Linked DNA regions of Homo sapiens: regions 2, 3, 4, 5, 6 and 7 are each linked to region 1. Evidence: promoter capture Hi-C in 16 types of primary human blood cells and fetal thymus (Javierre and others, 2016). All regions are on one chromosome and are shown on one strand. The core of a region is centred on a gene start or on the middle of the fragment in contact, and the rest is flanking DNA. Distances in the headings are between cores, read along the strand shown.

Region 1 (3,895 bases), core at 588-3,087:
TTGCAGCTGTAGTTTACCAACCCCGAGGACTTTACTTCCTCTGTAGCAATTTCTCATATCCTATATATTCAAGAGTCTGGAGTAAAATTGCTAGATAAATACAGGGCCCTGGTTACATTTGAATTTCAGATAAAGGCTGATTTTTTTTCTCATATAAGTATGTCCCTGGCAATATTTATTACAATTTCAAATATTGCCAGGGACATACTTATATGAGAAAAAAAATCATTTGTAATAAATTTTGCCATAGACATATGAAAAAGCTTCTGAAATTCAAATTTAACTGGACTTCCTGGGTCACCACACTATTTCTCCTTCCTCAGAACCCCCAACAATATTGAAGCACATGTCTTCATGTGCTTCAATGGTAGAGACATGTCTTCACGGTAGAGACCATCAACCACTGCTCCTTATTGAAGTTGTCTGTCATGCCTGTGGTCACTCTTGCCAAATTATTGATCATTCTAGCACTTGGTTCTTCTCTTTATTCCTCTCAGTACTTATTTCCATTATCATTCATTATGATTATGATATACACATAGACCACAATTCAGTATCCCTGCTTCTGATTTCCTTTACCTTCTCATTTCAAACACTTCCTCCATTTCAATTCCAAAGGAGAGAAGCATAAAGAAGATGAAGCTTTTTTGCAATATTAAATAGGGTGGTCAGGGAAGCCTCAGTGAGGAGATAATACTTGAGCCAACATCCTGAAGGAAATGAGGGACCCAACTCTGCTGACTGGAGAAACATAGTCCAGGAAGAGGAAACAGTAATTGCAAAGGCCCTGAGGCAGAAGCCTTCCAGGCTTATTATAGAAAGTTTCTCGAGAACAGGGATTAAATCTTATACTTGGTGGTGTGGATAATACCTTACCTGCAGGAGTAATTCATGTAATATGACGATTCATAGAAGAACATGATAAATTATTGATTAATAAATGAGTAAGAGGCACCTTGGTGAAAGGTTATTAAGTATATTTGGAAATCATTTCCTGCCTGTAAGACCTTGCAATCAAATGGCAGGACTTAGGGTTCTTAATAATACATAAAATAAAAGCATAAATTAAATAAGGAATTAATATTATGTACAATGAGTAAAGTGCATTTTGAGAGGCACTATTTGAAGAGAACTTCAAAAGTTGCATATCAACTTCATATGCAGAATATTTTTCTGAGGGGTTCAGATGCTTCTACACATTTTAATTGGAGGGCTTTCAAATATTCTAGACTTAGAATGCATATTAACCTCGTGTCTTCTCCCCTACAGACCACATTTGGGTAGTTTTTCCATGCTCTTGATTCTTTTGTTTCTAATCCAATAAGAATATTGAGGAATAGAGGTAACAAAGGATAGTGAAGATCAGACATTTTCAAGCGATTCATCCAATGAAGCTTTACTGGGTACCTGCCAAGTGAGTGAAACCCTGAGATGTATATATTCTAGTGCCGAGGACAGAGTTCCACACCTAGCAGATATTTAGTAAATTTTTGTTGAATGAATTAAGTGAATGAAAGAATGAATAAATGAAAGGAACGGTCTTCTCTGAGGTATCTGGATGTGACGCCAAAAGGGTCAGAACCACATTTTCAATTCCGCTTGATAATTTCTAGAATATAATAGACGGTGCGAACAAAGAGAAAATAAATAAAGCAGTGAACTTCAGAACTAGAGGGCATCGACGCGGCAGCTGATTTTGTCTGCACACGGCCCCCGTAGCCTTTCCGTCCAAAATCATTTACGCGGCCGCGACCGGTAGTGACGTCACGAGATTTGGAGCTCGCGGGAAAACTTGTCTCTGCGTTGTGGGGAGGACGCGCGCTCGCGCGGGATTTTCAAGCGTAGGCCCCCGGGAACTCGAGCTGCCATGAGCCTCTGGGTGGACAAGTATCGGCCCTGCTCCTTGGGACGGCTGGACTATCACAAGGAGCAGGCGGCCCAGCTGCGGAACCTGGTGAGTCTGCGGGGGCCGGGAGCGTGGGAGAGGGGAGGCCCCCCGGCTCGGGGTTTCGCGCCCCCCTGAGGAGCAGTGCTTCTCCCGCCCGCATTGGAAGGTGATAAGTGCTATGGAGAAAAATAACACAGGGAAGGGGGAAGAGGTGTGGGAGGCTGGCTTGTATTTTTAAACAAGAAAAGCTCCACTGAGAAGTGGCATCTGAGCCGAGACTTGAAGGAAATTGAAAAGTCATAAATACAGAAATCCGAGCAAAGAGTGGAACAGGTAAGAGGGGACAGCAAGTGCAAAATTCCCGGGCAGGGATGTGCACGGCATGTTCTAAGAACCTCAGGAGGCCGGCGTAGCCGATAGTGGTGAACCAGCGGGAAGGGTAATCGGAGATGGGTGTATGTGTTGGGATGGAGTTGGAGTGCAGACCCAGTCAGTCTCAGAATAAGACGAGAAGCCGTTGGAGCATTTTGAGCGGAGATGACACCATGTGATTTACTTTCTAGCTGGCTTAAGATTTCTCGATGTCATTGTCATTTACAAGTAAAGTGTTGTAAATATGTATTTACTCCAAAGATCGTTTCTAATTCTCAAATAAATTGTATTAGGACGTTCCTGAGATTAGTTTTTTTTTTTTTTTTTTTTTTTTTTGAGACGGAGTTTAGCTGTTGTCGCCCAGGCTGGAATGCAATGGCGCGGTCTCGGCTCACTGCAACCTCCGCCTCACGGGTTCAAGCGATTCTCCTGCCTCAGCCTCCCGAGTAGCTGGGATTACAGGCGCCCGCCACCACGCACAGCTAATTTTTGTATTTTTCAGTAGAGACGGGGTTTCACCACGTTGGCCAGGCTGGTCTCGAACTCCTGACCTCAGGTGATCCGCCTGCCTCGGCCTCCCAAAGTGCTGGGATTACAGGCGTGGGCCACCGTGCGTGGCTGAGATTAGAGCTTTGTGAAAGATCCTCTCCCCTCTATCCTGATGCCTCTTTGTCTGTTGTAGTTGATAAAAGTGCCCAATGGCAATATTTTGTGAGAACGAACTGAATCTTCCAGGGAGTAGAGAGTAAAGAAGGATCTTTAGGAGAATAAAGTGTCTGTGGAAGACATTTATCCACTCCTTTTAAGGAACTCAAATTAATATATGATGCTGATGGAAACGTTTTTGCCCAATACCCTGGTTTTCCCTTCCGACCTTTCTTAGATTTACAGATACTATTTAATTAAGTGCGTCTTAAAAATAAGAAATAATAAGAAAAGATTGTACACGTAAAAATCATTAGACTAGTTGATAGTGTTGTGACATTGAAGGTTTTTTTTTGGTCTCTTTATTGATACTGCATGTATACTAATTTAAAATAAATTGATTACTGCAGTATCCATCATTTATAGACAAATTACATTTTCCGTCAATAGCTTTGTCTTCAGTTTTCCTAGTGATAGAATACATTTTATTTTCTGTGGCCACATTTTGTTGTACAGAATTTGGAATGTATATTTTGGACATGAATTTAATATAATGGTCTTATGTGTTAAATTTGCTTTTAAGAAATGTTCACCTGTTTACTCTTTTATTTGCAGCTTAATCAAACTATGAAACATTTAAAGCATAACCCTTATTTTTGATTAGATTGAAGTTGAAAAAACAAGGCAGTAAGTGTCTGTGGGACACTTGCCATTTTCCAGGCAGTATATTAGATTGAATAGTTCTTTTCCTTGGGACTTTTTAGTGACAGAGATGGATGAGTTTACAAAGTATTAAAATTCATTGCAATAAGCGCTTCTCTTAAGATACGTATTCCATTTTTTCAATAATGGTTATTTACAGAACTTCACCTTACAAGACTTTATGCTCCCGAGGCTAAGGTCTGTCACCCACTCATCTTTATAGCCTTCATAGCACTGGTTCCCAAACCAGACTGATCATCAGAAACACCCGAAAAGCTTTTGCAAAAC
Region 2 (3,895 bases), core at 836-3,335, 1.5 Mb before region 1:
GTGACAGGCACTAATTATTCTAAGTGATGAACATGCCTCAACTCCTTTAGTTCGTCTCTTGATGGTGTGAGGACTATCACTATCCCCATTTTACAGATAGGTAAACTGAGAGGTAGAGAGTAACTTGCCCAAAATTATCTCTTAAGTAAGTACAGCACCCACGATTTGCAATTAGGTAACCTGACTCCAGAACATGCTTCCTACCTGGTATAGCTCTCAATTCCATTCACCCTACAGCTCAAAGCACAATATTGAGTCATTGTTTATTTCCTCCATCTTCCACTGCCAGCCCTGCACATTTTCAAACATTATCTTAAACCCATGGATTTCTCTTCGTCTCCCTGGCCATCACCCTTGTCCAAGCCATCAATTTGCTCATGTGTTCATTAACCTCACAACTGGTCTCCCGCTAAAGGGAGCTTTTTGAAGTGAGAATGTGTCTGCACTGTTGAAAGCCCCTCATGGGCTGTCATTTGCTTAAACATGGCCTTGAGAATCCTTTGTGATCAGAGCCCTGTCTTCTGCAGCCTCATGTCCCACATCAGCCCCAGGGGGCTCCTATTCCTCAGCCCCTCAATGCCTTTATTCCTGCTGTTCCCTTGGATCAAAACCATCTTCTCCCTGCTCCCTTCATCCTGCGAGTCTCAATCTCATGTCACCTCTTCCCAGCCAACGTGTCTAAAAGGTTACTCTATCATAGCACCCTATTTCCTTCATGGCATTTATCACAATCTGAACTTGAGAAGTATAAATGTAATTGTGAAAGCATGGAGCAAGTCCTACTCTACCTGGTTTAAATCCTGGCACTCTGCTCTGGCCTCTGTGTGCCTCTATCTCCTCATCTATGAGAAGGTATAATAGCTCCTACTTCATATGGGTGCTGTAGTGAGTAATAGCAATGCATGGCACATGCTAAAGGCTGCTTCTGCATTTGCTATAGTTGTGTATACTTGGAGGAAGGACCTTGCCCCTTCATCATCTCTATATATAATGCTTAGAACCAGTGCTTAGAACGTCCGACTTATAAAAATTTGTCAAAAGAATGGCTATTTTTCTTCATTGTTCCCCTTCATATAAGTGACAGTATCTACCATTTCCCAATGCCATATATTGATGTTTTTACCCTAGGATCACCAATTAATGTGGCTTCATGGTCTAGTTCACATGCATTTATTTTATTCTATTCACATTGTACAATTGTTACACAATCTACAAAAAGTACAAAAGCCTAGCCATTTTCCGATGCCAGGTCAGAGCCAAGTTGCAAAAAAGGAAGACAGCACAGTAAGTTACAAGAAGAGCTCAGGGGTCCATTACAAGTCACACTGTACAAGTCACATCACATATTTAAAGCTGTAAATATTGCCACAGGAGAATCTCTTGTCTTTGCAGCGACCACACAGTTCCTGTCGATGAGGCCTCCTTAGATCAATGTGTCTCTTCTTTTGAGGACAGGAACAATGAGACTTTGAGCAGGTCTTTAGGAAACAAAGAAGAGTTTGGACGCTAAATGATCAGTTTAGTGTTTCAAATGTAACCCTCAAATCACAGTACTTCTCCCTATTACCCTATCCCTGAAACCTTCATCCTCTGAGTCCTACGAGAAGGCCAAGACCAAGTTGTACAAAATTACTTGTATCACATTAAATGTCAGATATTTTTTCAAGATGAATGATCACAGAAGATATTCAAGAGAATACTGCAGAGCCAATCAAGACAACATAATGTAAAAGGAATTTAAGAGTTTTGTAGAATTTCTTCCCTATGTAGATTTTTACATTTGTAGCTGAACCAGTCAAGGCAACATAATGTAAGAGAAAAAAATAAGTCAAGAGTTTTATAGCGTTTCTTCACTCTGCAGATGTTTAGATTTGTAGGCAGGTCAGGGTGAGTGGCAGTGGGTAGGAATAAAATGAACATTTAAAAAAGACTAGAGCAGATGTTCTCAACCAGGGGTGATTTTACTCCCCCATCTCCAACCCCAGTGGACATCTGGCAATGTCTGAATATATTTTGGGTTGTTAAAACTGGGAGAGAAGGGTATTCTGGAGGAAACTAAATGTTTCTTTTCTTCTTCTTTTCGATGTGCCCAATCTTTACTAGGATCTAAAATAGTTTCTTTCAACCATTATCTCATTTCTGTCTTCCAATAATTAAAACTAATATCCTATGGAAACTGGTACAGTACCCTGGTTCCATCCCCCCAACCCTGCCATTCTATTTTCTACATGTCCCATAGCCACATGGAATAAGTCAAGATTTACCTTTTTTTTTTTTTTTTTGAAATGGAGTCTCGCTCTGTCGCCCAGTCTGGAGTGCAGTGGTGAGATCTTGGCTCACTGCAACCTCCGTCTCCTGGGTTCAAGCAATTGTCTCTGCCTCAGCTTCCTGAGTAGCTGGAATTACAGGCAATCGCCACTATGCCCAGCTAATTTTTGTATTTTTTAGTAGAGATGGGGTTTCACCATGTTGGCCACACTGGTCTTGAACTCCTGACCTGAGGTGATCCGTCCGCCTTGGCCTCCCAAAGCGCTGGGATTACAAGAGTGAGCCACCATGCCTGGCCAAGATGTACCTTTCTATATTGTGAAAATAGACATTTTTATTCTGCTAAATGCAGTCTTAAACATTATTTAATAAACTGTTCTGTTGAAGAATATGCCTCCTTATGAGAAAATTCCTTTTTTTTTTTCTTTTTTTGAGACAGAGTCTCGCTCTTTTGCCCAGGCTGGACTGCAGTGGCGCTATCTTGGCTCACTGCAAGCTCCGCCTCCCGGGTTCACGCCATTCTCCTGCCTCAGCCTCCTGAGTAGCTGGGACTACAGGCGCCTGCCACTGCACCCGGCTAATTTTTTGTATTTTTAGTAGAGATGGGGTTTCACCATGTTAGCCAGGGTGGTATCGATCTCCTGACCTCGTGATCCACCCGCCTCGGCCTCCCAAAGTGCTGGGATTACAGGCGTGAGCCACTGCACCCAGCCCTTGTAAGAAAATTCTAACAAGTAATACTCACATGGTGTTTACTATGTGCCTAGCACTCTCTTAAGCACTTTATATACATGAATTCATTTAATTCTCACAACACCCTTACAAAGAAAGGCTCAATAAAATAAGGATTTACCCTAAAGGTTGATTTTTGCTTCTGGAAATGATGGATTAGGTAATTCTAACCAAGCCTCCTGGATGACTAGAAAAGCTGAGCTAAAAATAACTGTTTGGATCACTGAGAAATTATCAGAGCATTAGAGATGAAAACCCAGAAATAGGTGTGAGCTTGATGTCTGGGACTGTTTACTCTCACTATAGTTTTTCACATGTGATAGCTAGCACTCAATCAAAAATAACCAGGTACTGTATGTGAGGAAACAGAACAACATACTTGAAAGCCAAGAGGACAGCAATAGACTCACAGGGTATTGAGTTAATGGAGTTCTCTGACACAGATTTTAAAATCACTAAGTGCTAATATGTTCAAGGAAATAAAACTAATATTTCCAGCAAAAAATTGAAGTTTTCTTCTAAAGCAATAAAAATTCTAGAACAGAAAAATACAACAAATAAAATCAATAGTTCAATGGATGTTTTAATCACAGATTAAAAAGAGCTGAGATGAGAAATACAAATGGAAGATGGTTTAGTAGATAATATTCAGCCTAAAGCAAGAAGAGCTAAAAGCATGGAAAATATAGATAAGCACATAAGAGACAGAAAGAAATATGGTGCAAAGGTCTAGTATGAGTAATTGGAAGAAAGAAGGAATAGGAGCAGAAGTAACATTTGAAAAGATAACAGTTGATAATTTCCCAAAAGTAATGAAAATCTTTAAGCTGCAGTTTCAAGAAACACTATGAAGCTCAAGCAGGATAATTACAAAGAAACTACAACTAGGCACATC
Region 3 (3,895 bases), core at 1,396-3,895, 1.5 Mb before region 1:
AAGGCACACAGAAATATAGCGGTGTGGAGTGGGAAATCAGGGGTCTCACAGCCTTTTGACAGCAAGCCAGTGATAAGCATTGTTTCTATAGATTATAGATTAACTGAAAGTATTCCTTAGGGGAAATAAAGGGCTGGGCCGAAGTAAAGGGATGGGTCTGGCTAGTTATCTGCAGCAGGAGAATGTCCTTAAGGCACAGGTCGCTCATGATAGTTTGTGGTTTAAGAACGCCTTTAAGCGGTTTTCTGCCCCGGGTGGGCCAGGTGTTCCTTGCCCTCATTCCGGTAAACCCACAAGCTTCCAGCGTGGGTGTCATGGCCATCACGAACATGTCACAGTGCTGCAGAGATTTTGTTTATGGCCAGTTTTGGGGCCAGTTCCCAACAGCAATATGTGTTTAAGGTTCTTCCATGTCTTTTAATGATTTCATGCTGAATAATATTCCATCGTATTGATGTACCACAGCTTGTTTATCCATTCATCTATTGAAGGACATCTTGATTGCTTCCAAATTTTGGCAATTATGAATAAAGCTGGTATAAATATTCACATACAGGTTTGTGTGTGAATATATTTTCAACTCATTTTGGTTCACACCAAAGAGCACGATTGTGGGATCATATAGTAAGAGTATGTTTAGTTTTATGAGAAACTACAAGCTTTCTTCCAAAGTAGCTGTTGCATTTTGTATTCCCACCAGCAGTGAATGAGAGTTCTTGTTGCTCACATCCTCACCAGCATTTGGTGTGTCAGTGTTTTGAATTCTAGCCATTCTAACAAGTGTGTAGTGGTACCTCATTGTTTGTTTTATTTAATTTTTTTTTTTTTTTTTTGGAGATGAAATCTCGCTTTGTCGCCCAGGCTGGAGTGCAGTGGCGTGATCTTGGCTCACTGCAAGCTCCGCCTCCCAGGTTCACGCCATTCTCCTGCCTTAGCCTCCTGAGTAGCTGGGACTACAGGCACCCGCCACCACACCTGGCTGATTTTTTTGTATTTTTAGTAGAGACGGGGTTTCACTGTGTTAGCCAGGATGGTCTTGATCTCCTGACCTCGTGATCCGCTCGCCTCGGCCTCCCAAAGTGCTGGGATTACAGGCGTGAGCCATCATGCCCGGCCTGTTTTATTTTTTAAAGTCAATTTTCTTTCAAGAATTAGCTACTTTTTAGTATCTTTAATTAAAAATCTCATTAGAGAAGGAGGTTGGATATTTTGTTGAAGTGGGGTTTTTAAGTTACACATCCATTTGCTTTATTAGTGATTATGTCTAGTCCATGTTAACTTGAAAAATGAGACTATAATGAGACATTTTATTTAGGCTGCTACAAACAGTTTTAAATTTGGTCTTCACTTTATTTTAGTAACATTGATAGAGCTTATTTTTCCCAAAAGCTAAGTTAGAGATTATAGGACCAACCGAAGCAACTATTTTCTAAGAGTAATAATAAGTGACTCAGGTGCCAAATTTGTAGTTACCATCAACTATTGGAACCATATGAGTACTTAATGCCCTGGAGAGTCAAATATAATCTACTCTAATACAGAAAATAGAAATATTGAAAAACTGTAAATTGGATTTCATATTGTTAAAGCCACCTATAGCTTTAGAAACTCTGAACATTATTTTCTTAGAAAATGGATGTGTTCAATAAGAATAGAAATTATGTATTACTGTCTGCAACTCACTTTGTCTAATTATATCCAATTTATTCATCCAGTCAATATTTCAGGAGTGACTAATATACCAGACATTTTTGTAGTTGCTAGGGATACAGTGACAAATAAGACAAAATCTCTACCTCAGATTGCTCACAGCCTAGTAGGGGGAAAAAGAACAGTGTATGATCAAACTCTTCAGGGAACACATAGGGGGGCAAACACTTAATCTTACCTTAGGGATCACTACAGTTTTCTGGAGGAGGTAGTTTCTAAATGGAAGCCTGAAAGAGTTGTTCCAGGTCAAGAAAAGCAAAGAAGGGGAAACAGCTTGTACAAAGTCCTAGAGGTTAAAGAAAACATTCTTTCAGGATATGCAAATGGTTGGGTATGGGTAAAAAGTAGACTGTAAAAGAATGGCATCATAAAAATTAAGTAAATTGTCACATAAATATATATATTTCTTATGTACCCACAAAAATTAAAAATGAAGAAATTAAGTAAATTGTGAAAGGCCTTCATACTATGGAGTTTGACTTGATCTTGAAAAGTAAGATCTTGAAAGGTTTTTAGCACAAGTGATATTGTCAGATCTGGTACATTGGTAGGTTTTCAGTAAATGTCTTCCCTTACTCCTTTTTTCTCTTTCCTTCTGCTTTTGTTTAAAGCGACAAGATGTTGCTCTTTTCCCAGGCTGGAATACAGTGGCATGATCATAGCTCAAGCTCCTGGGCTCAAGTGATCCTCCCGCCTCAGCCTCTCAAGTAGCTAGGACTACAGGCATATCACCACACCAGCGTTTTCTTTGTAGAGGCAGAGTCTCACTCTGTTGCTCAGGCAGGTGTTGAACTCCTGCCTCAAGCAATCCTCCCACCTCAGCCTCCCAGAGCCCTCAAATTATAAGCCACTGTGCTCGGGGCATCCTTTTTGGGGGGTAATCAGCAAACTGAAAAACCTCTTCTTACAACTCCCTATACATTCTCATTCCCAGTATAGAGGAGACTTTTTGTTTTTAAACACTTCCAAAGAATGCAAATTTATAATCCAGAGTATATACATTCTCACTGAATTATTGTACTGTTTCAGGAAGGAATGTTCCCAATAGTAGACATAAAAGTCTTCGCACAGTGAAAACTAAAATGGATCAAGCAGATGATGTTTCCTGTCCACTTCTAAATTCTTGTCTTAGTGAAAGGTATGATGAAGCTATTATATTAAAATATTTAAATGAAACATTTTCCTACATATATTTGTTCTATAAAGATGAATCTGATTTTTATGCTAATATTTTGGCTAAGAGCCTGGTAGAAGATCTTACATTTTTAAATAATCTTTTAGGTTGAGTCCTTTAATAGAATAGTTTTTACATTAGAAACATGTAAGTTGTTGTTCTTGTGATGTTGAATTGGCTGGTTTTCTGTATATTCTGTGATTTTTTAAGTAACAAAAATAACAGTGGTGAAAAGCAGTAAGTCAGTCCTTGAATTATCAATTTAAAATAAATTGTGTACTTTTCATCTTTGGAGAGAATATGATTTACTTTACAAATTTTTTTTTTGTTTTTTTTTTTTTTGAGATGGAGTCTCTGTCACCCAGGCTGTAGTGCAGTGGTGCGATCTCAGCTCACTGCAAGCTCCGCCTCCCGGGTTCACGCCATTCTCCTGCCTCAGCCTCCCAAGTAGCTGGGACTACAGGCGCCCGCCACCATGCCCGGCTAATTTTTTGTATTTTTAGTAGAGACGGGGTTTCACCGTGTTAGCTAGGATGGTCTCGATTTCCTGACCTCGTGATCCGCCCGCCTCAGCCTCCCAGACTGCTGGGATTACAGGCGTGAACCACTGTGCCCGGCCTACTTTACAAAATTTTTGAGTTTAAAATACACGGTTTCCAGCAGCTGAAATTTGTGAGTACATATGTGTTGGCATTTTAAACATCACTTGATGATTATTTAATGCTTCATGAGAGATTTACTTTTTAAAATGTAATATAAAATATCTAAAAGTAGTATTCCAACAATTTATATGAATGAGAATCTTCTTTTAAAAATAAGATAAACTAGTTTTTGCCAGTTTTTTAAAATAACCTAAGGGATTTGCTTTGTTTTATTTTAGTCCTGTTGTTCTACAATGTACACATGTAACACCACAAAGAGATAAGTCAGGTATGATTAAAAACAATGCTTTTTATTCTTAGAATACTAGAAATGTTAATAAAAATAAAACTTAACAATTTTCCCCTTTTT
Region 4 (3,895 bases), core at 488-2,987, 1.4 Mb before region 1:
TTTTTTTTTTTTTTTTTTTTTTTTTTTTTTTTTGTATTTTACAGACGGGGTTTCACTATGTTGGCTAGGCTGGTCTTGAACTCCTGACTTCAGGTGATCTGCCTGCCTTGGCCTCCCAAAGTGCTGGGATTACAGGCATAAGCCACTGCGCCCGGCTGATCTGATGGTTTCATAAGGCTTTTCCCCCTTTTGCTCAGCACTTCTCCTTCCTGCCGCCATGTGAAGAAGGACATGTTTGCTTCCCCTTCCACCACGATTGTAAGTTGTTTCCTGAGGCCTCCCCGGCCATGCTGAACTGTGAGTCAATTAAACCTCTTTCCTTTATAAATTATCCAGTTTTGGGTATGTCTTTATTAGTAGAATGAGAACAGACTAATACAACCCTTAAAGGAGACTGACGGAGAGGATTCTTCCTGGATCCCAGCACTTCCTCTGAATGCTACTGACATTCTTCTTGAGGACTTTAAACTGGGAGATAGAAAACAGATTCCATGGCTCAGCAGCCTGAGAGCAGGGAGGGAGCCAAGCTATAGATGACATGGGCAGCCTCCCCTGAGGCCAGGTGTGGCCGAACCTGGGCAGTGCTGCCACCCACCCCACCAGGGCCAAGTCCTGTCCTTGGAGAGCCAAGCCTCAATCACTGCTAGCCTCAAGTGTCCCCAAGCCACAGTGGCTAGGGGGACTCAGGGAACAGTTCCCAGTCTGCCCTACTTCTCTTACCTTTACCCCTCATACCTCCAAAGTAGACCATGTTCATGAGGTCCAAAGCCAGGCTCCCAGAGAGCCCTCATTCTCGTTTGTCAGTGTGGTCCCACAGACTCTATTGAGCAGAAATTCCTTTAAGTATCTTGCATGTGAACTTTTGTAGGCTCTCACAGCTGTGCAGGTTTCACCTGTGTTTGTGTTCTGTTGGTTCAGTCATGAGCAGAATTGGGGAAGGAATCAGGCACACCTACCTCAGTACTAATTTTTTTTGGCTGTTTTTTCCCAAAATGTCATAGATCAGTTACAGATAACAGAAGAGTAACTGTACAGGAAAACTGTCACTTTGGGCTGTCTGTGCTGCTTAAATGGGAAGGCGGCTGCATCTTTGATCCCAATTTTTAAATTTCTTCTTACTGTAACTATGAGGTAAAGGAGCCGGCACATCAAACATTTTCACCTGCAACAAATAGGAATCATTTTCTTATGCACCGAATTGAGAACTTTGGAATGAGTGGCTCTGTTTTTTCCTTTTCTTCCCCCTTGTCTGTCCTCCATATCCCATTCATTCTTTTTTATTTATTTTATTTTTTTTAGACCGAGTTTTGCTCTTGTTGCCCAGGCTGGAGTGCAATGGCGTAATCTCGGCTCACTGCAACTTCCACCTCCCAGGTTCAAGTGATTCTCCTGCCTCAGCCTCCCAAGTAGCTGGGATTACAGGCACCTGCCACCATGCCCAGCTAATTTTTTGCATTTTTAGTAGAGACGGGGTTTCACCATGTTGGCCAGGATGGTCTCGAACTCCTGACCTCAGGTGATTCCACCCGCCTCAGCCTCCCAAAGTGCTGGGATTACAGGCATGAGCCACCATGCCCAGCCTCATTCTTTTACATTTCTCTTTATGTGAATAATCTGCCCTTTGGTTTCGTTCTTTACTCAAGAGCCATGCTGACATCCAAGCTTCCACATCTTAGGAGGCATCTCACATTGCGTTTCATGAACTAATGCATTCATCAAATGTTGAATAAAGGCCTGTGATGTGCCTGGCCTTCTTTTAGGAGCTGGACAGAATAAAGTTCCTGATCTCATGGAATTTACATCATATCTCATGAAGCTTACGTTCTAGTAAAAGAAATAGATAATAAATAAATATACGTCAGTGGTACCAATGCCAAGAAGAAAAGAAAGCCAAGGTACAAGGCAACAAATGGTAGCATGAAAGTCCCTTTCAGGCCCTCTTTCTTCTTCAGCATATCCTTAAAATCTGTGGGGAAAGAGTGCTGGACAATCCTGGCTATACAATCATACTTCAGCAGGACTCCCCAATAATTGTGAAAGGGATGTAGGTATGTTTGTCCATGAACTTCCCTAGTAATATAAGATCACTTGGTGTATTATGAAATCCCCTGAGTCTCTCAAATGTGTGACTCTCCAATCCTAAAATCCTCATCTATAAAATAAAAATGACTACATCCCAGGGTTATTGTGAAGATTCAATAAGCCAGTGTCCAAAAAGGGCCGGGCAGACAGTCAGCAGTAACCATGTGCTGGCTTTTCTTTCCCCATTTCTCCCTTCCCCTTTCCCAGACTCTTACCTTGATAAAAACAGCCTTCTCCCCAAGCCATACATATGATCTGCCTTATGAAGGAACAGTTGGAAGGCAGACTAATTTTTCTTTATTATAAAATTTCCTTAATCCCAGAGAGCCTCAGTATCTTCAGATAACTTGGCGTGACTAAAAAAAAATTCTTATTGGGTTCATCCAGAGACTGAGTGGCCATAGGCGGGTGCTATTATGTAGGGGAAGGTTCATGAAACTGCCATGAAGGAACTAAGGCATTGACTTATAAATATCCTAACATGTGAGCAGATGAGAAAGAGACTTTAGACCTGCTTGGGAGTTGGAAGTTGACTACCACATCTCTCTCCAACACATCATAACCAGGATAAATATGGAAACGTATTTAAAAATCTAAATCTCATTTCCTCCCATTGCCCTCAATGGTACGTTAATAAAGAAAATAAATTCCCTGGTGAGTAATATTTTTTATATTATGAGAAACATTAATATTGACAACAAAAAATGTAGCTTCCTTACCCTGACAATTGAAATCCAGGTTAACTTAGCCCGCTTATAAGGCTCTTGTTTTTTCATTATACGACAGATCAAAACCAAACTCATTACCCTTTCACGAGATCACCCCCTTTCCGGCCTCTTCTTTTGGGGTACACAAAAAAAGCTGTTAGAAATAGGAGAACACATCCCTTTGACCCTGATCAAGATGTTTAGCTTCTCAGTGTCTTGGGCTCAGACCAGATGAACTCCAGGGGAGTTCCTATACATCTCCTGAACTTTTCCTTTGAAAGTATTCTTCCCCTATTCTTCCTTCCTTCATCCATTTCTACTTCCTCTCGGGTCATAATCCACACCTGCAATATCGGATTGCCCCAGTTCAGCAGGGTCTTCTTCCATTGTTCCAACAGCTCCAGGAATGTGTTTGTGGTGAATCTCCTGTATAGCTGGGCAATCTTTCCTGATACAGCCTCTCCAATGAGCAAGAACAAGCACATACCACGCTGTATATTTGCACTCTTTGTTAAACAGATACAGCTTTTAAGTCCTCATTCATCCCAGCCTCCAGAGAGAGGGTAAGGACAAGGACTCTCGGTAGTGAGGAGAGGAGATTTAGGACCCACCTTAGGAAAATTGTGAAAAATACAAAAAGCTAGTAGTCATTTTCCAAGTAGACCTAGATGACTAAAGATTTGATATATCACCTGTCTGACCCTCCACTTTTATATTCACAGAGTTGGAATGCTGCAAACATTCTATTGTGAGCTTGCTTTTATTAATGAGAGCCCTGGCCTCATAAAGAAACACACCACAGTCCAGGCCTGCTGGCTAGGAGCACTGTGGAGCAGAGTATTCTTTGGGGTCCAACTACTCACTACTTAGCCAACTTAACTGGCCCCCTGTTCTCACTGTTTCTCACATTCCACTGCTTATCTGGTTGTAAAGTATACTTTTCTCCCCATCTCCGCCTTACCATTGCATCACATTAGAAAAGCATCCTTTCACTTCTGTGCAAGGCTCTATAATGAAAAGAAATAATGAAAAGGTACTTCTCATGATGGAAAATTCCATGTTATCCAGAGATATGAATAAGGAGAAAAGACAGCTGTCAGCGGGCA
Region 5 (3,895 bases), core at 662-3,161, 1.3 Mb after region 1:
GAGGCTGAGGCAGGAGAATTGCTTCAACCCGGGAGGTGGAGGTTGCAATGAGCTGAGACCGTGCCATTGCATTCCAGAGCCTGGGAAGCAGAGGGAGACTCCATCTCAAAAAAAAAAAAAAAAGCCAAAATAATAATAATGGCATAAATGGAGTTCCCAAATAAGAAAAGCAGAATAATGGAACAAAACGAATATTTAAATCTATAATTCAGTGAAGTCTAGATGTAAGATTTTGCCATTTTTATTTAGAGGACATATTGTTTGCCAGGGAAAACTGACCTAGAATGGTTAGCATCAAAGTGCATTACTGGACTTAAATAGAAGAATACTTTGTATAATAGTGCACAAATAAGGAGAAAAATGAGTCTGGCTTTAGACTCTAAAATAACCTTCAATACAAAAAACTATAACAATCATAATTAAATGAAGAAAGTGGGAGCCAAACTATCCTTTAAGTAAAAAGGATGCTGTCAAATATTTTTTAGCCATACAGCAAATTATTTCTGTGACTAAATCTTGAGGAAATTGTGGGGAATAAAGTCCAACCAACTAGGAATGACTGGAGAAACTATTGCTAAGGACCGCTGGTGAGCACTGAATAAATTTAACCATAAAACTAAGACTAAAATAAATGTTCATATTACTGTGACAGACCAGAATTTACTTTTTATATATGCTAATAATGTACAAATGACACAACCGTAATGAATTGGGAGGGGACTGAGAAAAGAAGGAAAGTAGAGCAAGTGCAAAGAGTCAGAATTTCCATGTAAGTGGACAGATGAAATATTACAAATATAGGCCTATTGACTAAAATTTGATGATGTAGATGAAAGGAAAAAATTAAGAGTAAATATGCTGACATTTACATTTCTCATAGTAGGGAAATACCCTTTTTAAACAGATGGAGGATTACTTATTCTTTCACAGTTAAAAAGATAAGCAGTTCTATAAAATTATAAAGCTTTCAAAATATTTAAGATCTGTATGGATAAAACTAAGAACAATGTATGTAATGGAACTTTGAAAAATCCGTAAAGATCAGTAAGCATAACATAAAATATGAAATATCTAAGACCAGTCTTACTGTCATTAAAAAAAAATGTAAAAGCTTTTATAAATCAGCTGTTGTAAGAAAAATATCACAATTGATCACAGTAATGAAACCCAGTTCTGTATGCAAGAAACATACCCAAAAACCAAAGTGGTTTTGAAAGGTTGAAAGTAAAAGGATGAGTAAAGTTTTATTATATAAGTACAAAGAAAGCAGAAAGGGGTGGGGGGAGGGGGGAGGGATGGCATTGGGAGATACACCTAATGCGAGATGATGAGTTAGTGGGTGCAGCGCACCAGCATGGCACATGTATACCTACGTAACTAACCTGCACATTGTGCACATGTACCCTAAAACTTAAAGTATAATAATAAAAAAAAAAAGCAGAAAGTAGGAACCATGATCTTAGTATTGGACAAATTAGAATACAAGCCAAAAAGCAATAACCATTAGATAAAGAAGAATTCTTTATAATGATAAAATAGAAACATTCATAAACTAGAAATTACAGGAGAAACAGACAGTCACTTAAAGTTTAAGACTTCAGAACGAACTTTAATTCACCTATTTCAGTCCACAAAAAGCCAAGAAGATCTGAAATGGGATAAATCTTTTTGACCTTAAACTTGTGGGTCGGTGTGTAGGAAGATTGGAGTGCTATCATGCTGGCTCCAGGGGCTCATGGTGCAGGACTTATAGCTTGCTAAGTTTTATACTACAAGTCAGTAAGTTTAAAGGGTGCTCTGCCTGACACTACCTGCAGGGATCTCATCATTTAAAATTCACAGCCATGAGATTTGACCTTGACTCTGTGGGTAGTGAAAAATAGCAACTCATCTAAAGGGGCCTACTAGCCAGAGGCAGGATGAGAGAATCATCAAACTGTGTACCCAGTGAAGTAAAACTATGGTGGAGGCTGTTGTGGAACATCTGAATTTCATTTATACAAAGAGATTTTGAGATTCAAATAGAGCACCAATGATAATATTCTGCTCTTTTAGCTGATGATTTTTTAACCCTTCACCCTACTTAATGGAAGATCTGAAAGCATGGATGAAAAATAGAGAGTGAGAGAAAAGATAAAGCCTTAGAAAATAAGAGACTTCACATGTGGCTATTAAGAGTTCAAAACCAAACACCACATGTTCTCACTCATAGGTAGGAATTGAACAATGTGTGTGATGTTTCTCCTTAAACATGGGGGGAGGGGGGAGGGATAGCATTAGGAGATATACCTAATGTTAAATGATGAGTTAATGGGTGCAGCACACCAACATGGCATATGTATACATATGTAACAAACCTGCATGTTGTGTACATGTACCCTAAAACTTAAAGTATAATAAAAGAAAGAGTTCTTAGAAAAGTGATGAGTGTAAAAACTAGATATCCTGAAACACTTTGATCTACTAAAAACTTAGAAATGTTAGATAAAAATATGTCAAAAATCCTATTAAATATATAGGTGTGCACACAAAAGTAAGGGAAATTCTCACATTCCAGAAATGAAAATCAAGCATACTAAAAGAAACAAGACTTTAAAAACAAGGTAATTTAAAAATAAACCATGTAATTAAAAAAACCCTAAGTAACTTGTGAAAATGTAAAGGTAGTAATTACAATGAACACCTATATGGAAACATTAAACAGATTAGACAAAGCTTCACAAAGAATTGGTGAACTGAGGGATAGAACTGAAGAAATTACCTAGAAATCAACACCAATAAGCAAGATTACAACCATGACATTAAGAGAGGGGGAAAAAAGGAAAGGTTTCAAATATGGCTAATAAGAGTTATAGAAAAGGGGAAGAGAGAATGAGGAAGAGGCAATATTCAAAGTAAATTACTAAAGTTTTACAAAATTGATGAAAGACCTGATTTCTCAGATTTTGGAAGTAAAATGAATTCTAATCAGGGAAAATTAGTATGAAATCTTACCACAAAGTGAAACTCCAGAACCCAACAAGGACAAGGAGAACAACAAAGGGAAGTTAGCCATATAATATTAAAAGAAATATAATATTTTAGTAAAGAAAACAATATAGTACATATTTGTGAATAAACAGCAAAGTGCAGTCCATAGATTGACCCAAATACTTAGTGATTTTAGTGCTAATAAAGGTGCCATCTCTGATGAATAGAGTGATGATTTACTTTTAAAAAATGCTGTCTGTTAAAGGAATGGAACAAATGATATATTTTTATTTGCATTTAAAAAGTTAATAGGCAGTTATAACAAATGTACCACTCTGGTGAGGGATGTTGACAGTGGGGAAAGCTGTGTATATGTAGGGGTAGGGACATATGGGACTCCCTACATTCTGCTCAATTTTACTGAGAACCTAAAACTGCTCTAAAAATAAAGTGCATTTAAAAGAGAAGGGTAAAGTGGTAGGGAAATGAGAAATTATAAAGTGTTCACTTGTATGGGGGAGCTGTGAGTGATGTGGAAATGTAAAGGATGAGTTGGGTGTAAAATCTCTATGTATTTTTTTATGTCATATATTTTTAACTAGGTAAGTGTATTACTTATTCTAAAAATTAAATGATAAAAGCTGTTATTGCATTATTTAAATATATAAAAATAAACTTTAAGGCAAAAAATTTAATGAGGATGAAGGGGGCCACCATGTTATGAAAAAGGTGTAATTCACTAGGAATGTAAAAGTTTCAAATGCGTATACACTTAGTGTAGGTGAGTCGTAGAAATCTATTATTGACTAAATTTGGAAGAGTATTTTACAAATTTTAACATATTTTTTTCCTTAGAAGATCAATTACAAAAAATCTCAAAAGTATAATTTGAAAAAAAAAATCCATTGGCTTGAGTGTCATACAC
Region 6 (3,895 bases), core at 682-3,181, 1.3 Mb before region 1:
AACTATAACATCTGCCTAAAAAGAACCTTTCATGCAACATAGTAGTCAGAGTACTAAAAGGACAAAGAACGGTCATCAGGCTTACTACTAAGTAGGCTCTATAAGCTATTCCATGCCTGCTTGCTAAACAAAAATGTTTGATATATCTGTAAGTGAGACAGAAACTTGCTCTCAAAGTTGCCGGGAGAAGGTTTTTTTACTTGATTCTAACAACTGAAGGCAACTGTTGTCTATCAAAAAATAATCATAAGAATTGGGTTAATAAATTTGCGTGGTCAGCTCACAATAAAAATAACGAAGAGAGATGGGGCTTTGGCAGAAGATTTTAGGGCTATCTGTCTGTGCTCTTGGCTGCTTTGCTTTATCTGAGGTGTCATGGCCTTACCATCCTAAAAGGCATAACCTGTTCACATTTGATAGATGATTGATTTTATCATTGCTTAGATGACAGACAACCAAAACTTTATAATTTATTCCCCCAAGGATGAGATCCCAAGAGTTAAAAAGTGATAGCAACAGCTGAATTACACTTTTACAGCTGGTTAAAATGATAAATATGATGTTATGTTTATTTCACCACAATAAAAAAATGATAGATCAAAGACCTAAGTATCAGACCTAAAATTACAAAAATCTTAGAAAATTTGGGTGAAAAGCTTCATAATGTTGGTTTTGCCAATGATTTCATAGATATGACACTAAAAGCACAGTCAACAAAAGAAAAAAACAGGGGCTGGTCACAGTGGCTCACACCTGTAATCCCAGCACTTTGGGAGGCCAAGGTGGGTGGATCACCTGAGTTCAGGAGCTCAAGACCAGCCTGGGTAACATGGTGAAACTCCATCTCTACTAAAAATACAAAAATTAGCCAGGCATGGTGGTGGGCGCCTATAGTCCCAGCTACTTGAGAGGCTGACGCACAAGAATCGCTTGAAACTGGGAGGCAGAGTTTGCAGTGAGCTGAGATCGTGCCACTGCACTCCTGTCTGGGCAACAGAATGAGACCCTGTTTTGCGCTCCTGATTGGGTGACAGAGTGAGACCCGTCTCAAAAAGAAAAAGAAAAAGAAAAAGAAAAAAAATAGGTAACTTAGGCTACATCAAAATTTAAAACTTCTGTGTATTGAAGGACAATCAACGGAGTGAAAGGGCAACCCATGGAAATTTGGGAAGAAATATTTGCAAATCATATATCTGGTAAAGGGTTAATATTTAGAATGTATAAAGAACTGCTACAACTCAGCAATAGCAACAGAACAACAACACAAACAATTTGATTAAGACATGGACAACTCTGGGCGTGGTGGTTCACACCTGTAATCCCAGCACTTTCAGAGGGAAGGCAGGAGGATCTCTTGAGCCCAGGAGTCTGAGACCAGCCTGGGCAACATAGTGAAACTTAGACACTTTGTCTCTACAAAAAAAGTAAAATAAAATTAGCAGGGTGTGGTGGTGCGTGCCTGTAGTCCCAGCTACTTGGGAGGCTGAGGTGGGATGTAGGAGGATTTGCTTGAGCCTGGGTGGTAGAGGCTGCAGTGAGCTGAGCTCATGCCACTGGATTCCAGCCTGGATGACAGGAAAAAAAAAAAAAAAAAAAAAAAAAAAAAAAAAAAAAAAATATATATATATATATATATATATATAATTTTGTATAGTTTCTTTGGAGAAATATCTCCAAATGCACAAGGTCTTGACTATGTCGTCATACTTGCCCATGGTCTTTGTATGTCTTTATATGGGCAAGGTCTTGAGTAGACATTTCTCCAAATAAGGTATACAAATGGCCAATAAGAACATGGAAAGATGCTCAGCAGACATCACAACTATAATGAGATATCACCTCACACCCATTAGGATGGCTGCTATCAAAATAAAATTTTTAAAAAACCCAGAAAATAACAAGTGTTGGTGAGGATGTAGAGAAATTGGAACCCTTGTGTATTATTGGTGGGAATGTGAAATGGTGCAGTTACTGTGGGAAATAGCATGGTGCATCATCAAAAAAATGAAACATAGAGTTACTATGTGATCCAATTCCGCTTCTGGGTATATACCCAAAAGAGTAGAAAACAGGGTCTCACAGAGATATCTGAACACCCACATTTATAGCAGTATTATTCTCAATAGACAAAAGGTAGAAATAACCCTAGGACACATTGGCAGATGAATGTGTAAACCTAACGTGCTATTAACATGCAATGGAATATTACTCAGCCTTAAAAAGGAAGGAGGCCAGACGCTGTGGCTCATGCTGAAATCTTAGCACTTTGGGAGGTTGTGGCACAAGGATCACTTGAGCCCAGGAGTTGGAGACCAGGCTGGGGAATGGAGTGAGACCTTATATCAAAAATTAAATTAAAAGGAAGGAAATCTTATCACATGCCACAATATGGATGAACCTTGAAGGCATTGTAGTAAAATAAGCCAGTCACAAAAAGACAAATGCTGCCTAAAATAGCCTAACTTATAGAAACAGAAAGTAGAATGGTAGTTGCCAGGGACTGCGGGAAGGAGGAAATGGGAAGTTGTTACCTAATACGTACAGAATTTCAACTTCACAAGATAAAAATTCTGGAGATTGGTTGCACAACAATGTGAAATGTATTTAACACTACTGAACTGTATACTTAAAAATGATCAAGATGTTAACATTTTTATGTGTATTTTACCCAATTTTTTTTACAAAGTCATAGTGATAGGGAGATCCAGTAATAGAAAAATAGATATTTTCAAGTACTTGAATAGAAAGAAAATTCTTTGAAGGAAACTAAATGAAAAAAAAAAAGGATTACATTTAACAATTTTTTTTAGCTGAAAACATTGGGGAAAAAATTGCTGCAGAGATTATTAGAGAATATTTTCTTCTCTTAACGTGTCTTTTCTGTTAACTTTCCTGGATAAGGGGATAAGGAGGCTGCCCAGTCCAGGAAATCTTGGGGTTCTACTGTCTTTAAGGCAGTGATGTTGGTGTCTCTTCTGATATTTTACTTCACAGGATGGTTGACAGAGTGTAGCCGCCTCCAACTCCTAGCAGTAAAGAAGATAAACACTGTTCAAGGAGGCTTTGCCTTGAGGCATGTGTTATAAGTTACTCTTAAGAATTGAATTTCACACTTTTCCTTAAATGTCATGAGAATGAGAATCTTAAAAGCAGGAAAAATTATCAATCATCAGTAAACATGAAAAGTATTTTCATTTGATCAAAAGACAAGCTTATGACGGTTTTCTTCCAGCCCATTCTTGGACACCACAAATTGGGCTGGCTTCCTGAACGTGCACCCCATTTTCAGCTCAGAGAACCGTGCTCCAAAGGGTAAATACACAAGTGTCTTTGTTTTATGGATTTTCCTGTTAACAATTATAGGGGAAACAAAATGTACCAAGAGGACAATTCCAGAGGTTTCACATTTCGACAGTGTCACAGCAATGTCCCTTCTCCTGTGCAGTTACAGTGCCCCCACAGCAATGGCCACAGGATTATCTCAGCCCTGTCAGTTTCCGCTGGAAGGCCCAGGTTGTCAGGTGTGCAGGCCTCATTTGTCCTTGACTTCTGCCCAACACAAGTATCAGAAGAGGGAATTTCTACAAAGAAGTTGGTCATCAAATCATGGTGAAATGTACTTCCCAGCACCAAAGGACTGGAATGGCAAATGTATGGTGTAATCTCATTTTGTGAAAGGAAGGAGGAAAAGGAAAAGAAGAAGCAAAGAAGAAACATCATATATGTGTATACATATTTGTAGAAACTTGAACAGTGATGTGGAAGTAGACATTCCATGACATAAACAGAGCTTGCCTCGAGAGGAGTTTAGTGCAGTGAGGACTGGCAGGGAGATGATTAACTTTTTCTTTATGTATCTCTGTATTTTTGACTTGTTACAAGAATATATTAAATG
Region 7 (3,895 bases), core at 580-3,079, 1.2 Mb before region 1:
TGAGGCTTCCAGGTGTCAAATAATGGGGATAAGAGCACTGAATAATTTATACAAAAACTCTTAGCCGGGCATGGTGGCTCACGCCTGTAATCCTAGCACTTTGGGAGGCTGAGGCAGGCAGATCACGAGGTCAGGAGATCGAGACCATCCTGGCCAACATGGTGAAACTCTGTCTCTACTAAGAATTACAAAAAATTAGCTGAGAGTGGTGGTGTGTGCCTGTAGTCCCAGCTGCTTGGGAGGCTGAGGCAGGGGAATTGCGTGAACTCAAGAGGGAGGTTGCAGCGAGCCAAGATCGCGCCACTGCACTCCAGCTTGGCGACAGATCAAGACTCCATCTCAAAAAAAAAAAAAAAAAAAAGAAAGAAAAAAGAAAAAAAAATTCTTGCTTTCATCCTGGCTTTCTTCTGAAACTTTCTGGCTTCCTGGCTTTGGAGGTTTGGGAATTGAAGAAAATAAAGTAAAAAACATAATAAAAACAACCAAAGAGGAAAGGTTTTTCTAGATCTAGACATCCTACTCTCCCATACAAGATTTATGTTGATGGAACAACGATGTAAAATAAGAAAATTCCTGAGATAATTTTAAAAAGAGGGCAGAAAAAACTCATAGTAGACTTCATCGAGGAATGTATAAAATGGGTAGAACCTGGAGTATTCAGTGGCAAAATCTTGGACACAGGAATACAGTAACACAACATATTGGTCTAGCAAGCACTGGAGGAGACTGAGGCGGAATTGTCCAGCGAATCCCACAAAAATGGAAATGAAGAGGTCTCAGTATCTCTAGGTGCCCGGGTCCGATGGAATACCGATGTACATACCTTTTCTAACACAGTAGCATTAGTTTATATATCAGCATTACCTCTCTTTTGTTTCAGTTGATAAGTATCCTACTGTAATCCATTCATTCACACTTTGCTTGTTCATTGTTGAAACAAATTCTCCCTGGAACAAAATTCTAGTAACCAAATACATCATATCAGGGGAAACTTCCTTACAGCAGGGATGGTATTAAAGTAAAAAGAGGAGGAAGTCCCTTCTTCAGCTCTGGCAGGGACCCGGCTGGGGAGGAAACCTTCCCGCAAGGTAGGTGATCTGCTGTGGTGACCAGGCTAAACCCACTCTACAGCTGCAGGAGGGACTGGCATCCCTTAGAGGTGAAGAGGGGAGGAGACCCACCTCCTGGAATGTGTCCCTGTGGTCTCCAGATGATTTCTTCCTCTAATAAGGACAATTCTGCCAAAGGAATGGAATGCTTCGTCACAGGCTCAATTACTCTGTCTCCGCCAGCCTACCACCTATAAACAATTCCTCAAATTAGGAAAGCGGGGAGATTTAATAAAGACATAACACGTAAAGTGTAGGAAAACTATTTGTATGGCATTCCGAGACGACTAGGTCAGAGTTAACAAGTAAGGAGCAAAGTAGTTAATAATACCAATTCTGTTTACCCATCACAACACCTGTGCTGAATGTCAGGGTTTAAAAAAATCTCCCAACCTTTATCTAAAAAGATAGGGCTACGTAACAATCGGTGTGGTTTTTGTCGGTAGAGGTCTAGGAAGCCGCAAGAGTAGTGGACGCCTTGACAGCTGCCCTTCTCGCGGGCCCCGCGGCGGCGTGCCCGTGTGGTTGCGTGCGCGCGGACGGGGCGGGGCTGAGGAGGGACGTGCGCGCGCGCGGACGGGGCGGGGTGGAGCTCGGAGGGCGGACGCGCTCGGGGCCGTCTGGTCGGCAGGGGGCGCTGCGCACCCATGCCGCGCTCTGCCTGCCCCCGGGTGCTGTCCGCGGCGGTTCGATTGGAGCAGCCGCCGAAGAGCGCTTGGCGCCATTTTGAAGCGGAGAGGAGGAGGAACGGCAGGGCTGGCTGCGGAAGGGGAGGGGGGGGGAGAAGGCGATTGGATGCGGCGGCGGCGGCGGATCCCGGAGAGCCCCGGAGTGAGCGGAGTAGCGAGTCGGCAACCCGGAGGTAGGAAACAATTCAGTTAACGGAAAGAAAATGTCTCTCTTCTCTGGCTGCGGCGCTCCATTTTTCAGCGGCCGCCACTGCCGCTGTGTGCGTGTGTGTGGCAGGGCTGAAGCGCCGCCCGCCTGGGTGCCAGGCGCGACTCGCCTCCCGGCATCGGGGGCTGCAGCGGGTGGCTGCCTGGCGGTGGCCCGGGGCGGGGGTCGCGGGGCGCGGGCCGGCTGCGCGGTGGGGGTGGGGAGGGCCCCGCGGCCGGCGCGCGCCTCCACGCCGCGGGTTCTGCCGCAGCCTCTGGAAAATTAAACTTGCCGCTCTGATCCCGGCCGGGGCGGCGGCGGCGGCGGGCGGTGACCTTGCGCGCGGGCGGGGGTCTCGGGGCCGCCCGGCCGCCCGCGCCCTCCCGCCGCCGCCGTCGCCGCCGCCGCGCCCCTCCCCCCGCGCCCCGGCCGGCCGGCGGCTGTTTCCCGGGCGGCAGGCGGGCGGCGCGGTGCTCCTGTTGAATCCTCCCGCGGGCGGGCTTCTCCCCCTTCCGGGCGAGGGGCGGGCGGGGACCGCGGGTCGGGGCCGCGGGCGCTCTCGCCCCCGCCGCCGGGTCCCCGCGCGCCGCCTGGCCTCCGCTTCGGGCCAGGGGACGGGCTGAGCGTGACATTTTTGCACTGTCCCTCGCCGCTCGCCGGAGGGAAATCGCGCTCACCGCGCCACCCCGAGTGGTCCCCGAGCAGCCAGTTGAGGAAGAGCCCAGCACTGGCGTGGAGGGACTCCTCCCAGGCCACAACTGGGTTCTAGCTTTCCTTTCAGAAGGAACGGCGGGGAAAATGGTGTGCAATTGTGACTCGTTATTGTTTTTACACTGTTATTTTAATGTTACTTTAAAAGTTTTCGGTCCGGAGAAAAACCTTGTTTGTTGTTGTTGCTGCTACTGCTGTTGGTTTTTGGTAGAGACGTGAAAGCTAACTCTTAAGTAGCTCGACAGTTATTTTGGACGAATGACTGAAACCAGAAACGCCGCCCCTCGCCTTCGGAGCTGCAGGCTGCTGCGTTCCTTGCCGCGGACGGGGCGAGCTCCGGGAAGGGTTGGTAGAGCAGCTACCCACCCACTCCACGCGCGTCTTCAACAGCCTCTCTCCCCCAGCGAGGGTTAACCCTTTTTTATGTCGAAGAAAGTGCTTCTCGTACTTTTAATAAGAGGTGATGGATGGGCAGTGGTGCCCAGACTGATCCTACCCTGTTGATGAAATAGTTTCGAAAACTTTGGGTATAGCCTTAATTTAGAGGGTTGGTCTGCGGTGTGGAGAGAGTTGGGTAATCCTATACTATCTTCCTAATGAACTTCAAAAACTCAAGTTGTGTTTACATACAGGAGGCGAGCTGTAAATAAATCGTAATTACCCAATGCTTGAACGGCAGTATAGTCATTGTTCTCAGTTAACACATCCCGAGTTCCCAGACAGAACGTTTTTTATATTAACTCATGTAGTGGTCAGGTAAAGTAATTAAAAGCCACAAATATGGACTTGAAAGACAGCTCTTCATGCAGTACACATGTCTGAGATGTTCGCATCTTTAGGGACAATAAAATGAGTATTCAATGGTGTATGCAGGTCAGTTCGTGCAACAATTAATCTTGTATCTCATGGTGATAGCAGAAAACCTAATTAAAATTTGTAGTGCTGAATATGTAGGTGAAAATTACATGGGAACTTTTATGTGAAGATAGATTTAGTCTCAGAAACTTAACTGTAAAAACACATCTTAAGAACATTATTCCTTATAAATAAAATTTGTACTTAATATACATTTACAAATATGTCTAACAAGATGCACTTTAGACTTTATAAAAATTACCAAAATAGTGACTTTTTCCTCCTTTTTCTGATGGTTTTAAAAATTGTTCTCTTCTCAGCTGGCGTTTACTTAAAGGTATATT

Evidence for each region. Contacts are between HindIII fragments. The CHiCAGO score rates a contact against its expected background, and 5 or more counts as called.
Region 2: a fragment that was not itself captured here is called in contact with the fragment with the promoter of RFC3 in region 1 in 1 of 17 cell types (activated CD4 T cells); the score reaches 5.1 in activated CD4 T cells.
Region 3: a contact is called between a fragment that was not itself captured here and the fragment with the promoter of RFC3 in region 1, in 1 of 17 cell types (non-activated CD4 T cells). The highest score is 7.7, in non-activated CD4 T cells.
Region 4: a contact is called between a fragment that was not itself captured here and the fragment with the promoter of RFC3 in region 1, in 3 of 17 cell types (naive CD8 T cells, fetal thymus and naive CD4 T cells). The highest score is 8.3, in naive CD8 T cells.
Region 5: a fragment that was not itself captured here is called in contact with the fragment with the promoter of RFC3 in region 1 in 1 of 17 cell types (M1 macrophages); the score reaches 7.7 in M1 macrophages.
Region 6: a contact is called between a fragment that was not itself captured here and the fragment with the promoter of RFC3 in region 1, in 1 of 17 cell types (non-activated CD4 T cells). The highest score is 6.9, in non-activated CD4 T cells.
Region 7: a contact is called between the fragment with the promoter of PDS5B here and the fragment with the promoter of RFC3 in region 1, in 9 of 17 cell types (naive CD8 T cells, total CD8 T cells, naive CD4 T cells and 6 more). The highest score is 18.3, in naive CD8 T cells.

What each region holds. Positions count from the first base shown.
Region 1 is chr13:33,816,312-33,820,206 of GRCh38, forward strand. It overlaps RFC3 (replication factor C subunit 3), which reads left to right and starts at 1,838. Exons shown (of 9, transcript NM_002915.4): 1 at 1,838-1,954. The coding sequence starts at 1,868. The HindIII fragment of the contact is 2,489 bases long and covers 1,393-3,881 here.
Region 2 is chr13:32,302,545-32,306,439 of GRCh38, forward strand. ZAR1L (zygote arrest 1 like) reads right to left here. Exons shown (of 6, transcript NM_001136571.2): 6 at 1,155-1,478. The coding sequence ends at 1,335. Among named protein-coding and RNA genes, the nearest start is that of ZAR1L, 11 kb to the right of the region's middle. The HindIII fragment of the contact is 8,321 bases long and covers 1-3,895 here.
Region 3 is chr13:32,322,337-32,326,231 of GRCh38, forward strand. It overlaps BRCA2 (BRCA2 DNA repair associated), which reads left to right. Exons shown (of 27, transcript NM_000059.4): 4 at 2,740-2,848; 5 at 3,765-3,814. Among named protein-coding and RNA genes, the nearest start is that of BRCA2, 8.8 kb to the left of the region's middle. The HindIII fragment of the contact is 3,977 bases long and covers 658-3,895 here.
Region 4 is chr13:32,419,415-32,423,309 of GRCh38, forward strand. All of the region lies in intron 1 of N4BP2L1 (NEDD4 binding protein 2 like 1), which reads right to left. It overlaps LOC124903256 (small nucleolar RNA SNORA16B/SNORA16A family), which reads right to left and starts at 1,102; the gene lies at 976-1,102. The HindIII fragment of the contact is 154 bases long and covers 1,661-1,814 here.
Region 5 is chr13:35,126,813-35,130,707 of GRCh38, forward strand. The region is part of intron 17 of NBEA (neurobeachin); the gene reads left to right. It overlaps LOC124903232 (a long non-coding RNA gene), which reads right to left. Exons shown (of 2, transcript XR_007063909.1): 2 at 1-3,895. Among named protein-coding and RNA genes, the nearest start is that of NBEA, 190 kb to the left of the region's middle. The HindIII fragment of the contact is 1,604 bases long and covers 1,110-2,713 here.
Region 6 is chr13:32,546,502-32,550,396 of GRCh38, forward strand. No RefSeq gene overlaps it. Among named protein-coding and RNA genes, the nearest start is that of N4BP2L2, 9.7 kb to the left of the region's middle. The HindIII fragment of the contact is 2,555 bases long and covers 655-3,209 here.
Region 7 is chr13:32,584,623-32,588,517 of GRCh38, forward strand. It overlaps PDS5B (PDS5 cohesin associated factor B), which reads left to right and starts at 1,830. Exons shown (of 35, transcript NM_015032.4): 1 at 1,830-1,971. PDS5B-DT (PDS5B divergent transcript) reads right to left here and starts at 1,823. Exons shown (of 3, transcript XR_001749808.1): 1 at 1,755-1,823; 2 at 1,182-1,300; 3 at 396-947. RefSeq lists silencers at 1,515-1,884, 1,895-1,974, 2,395-2,644 and an enhancer at 2,875-2,934. The HindIII fragment of the contact is 4,434 bases long and covers 1-3,895 here.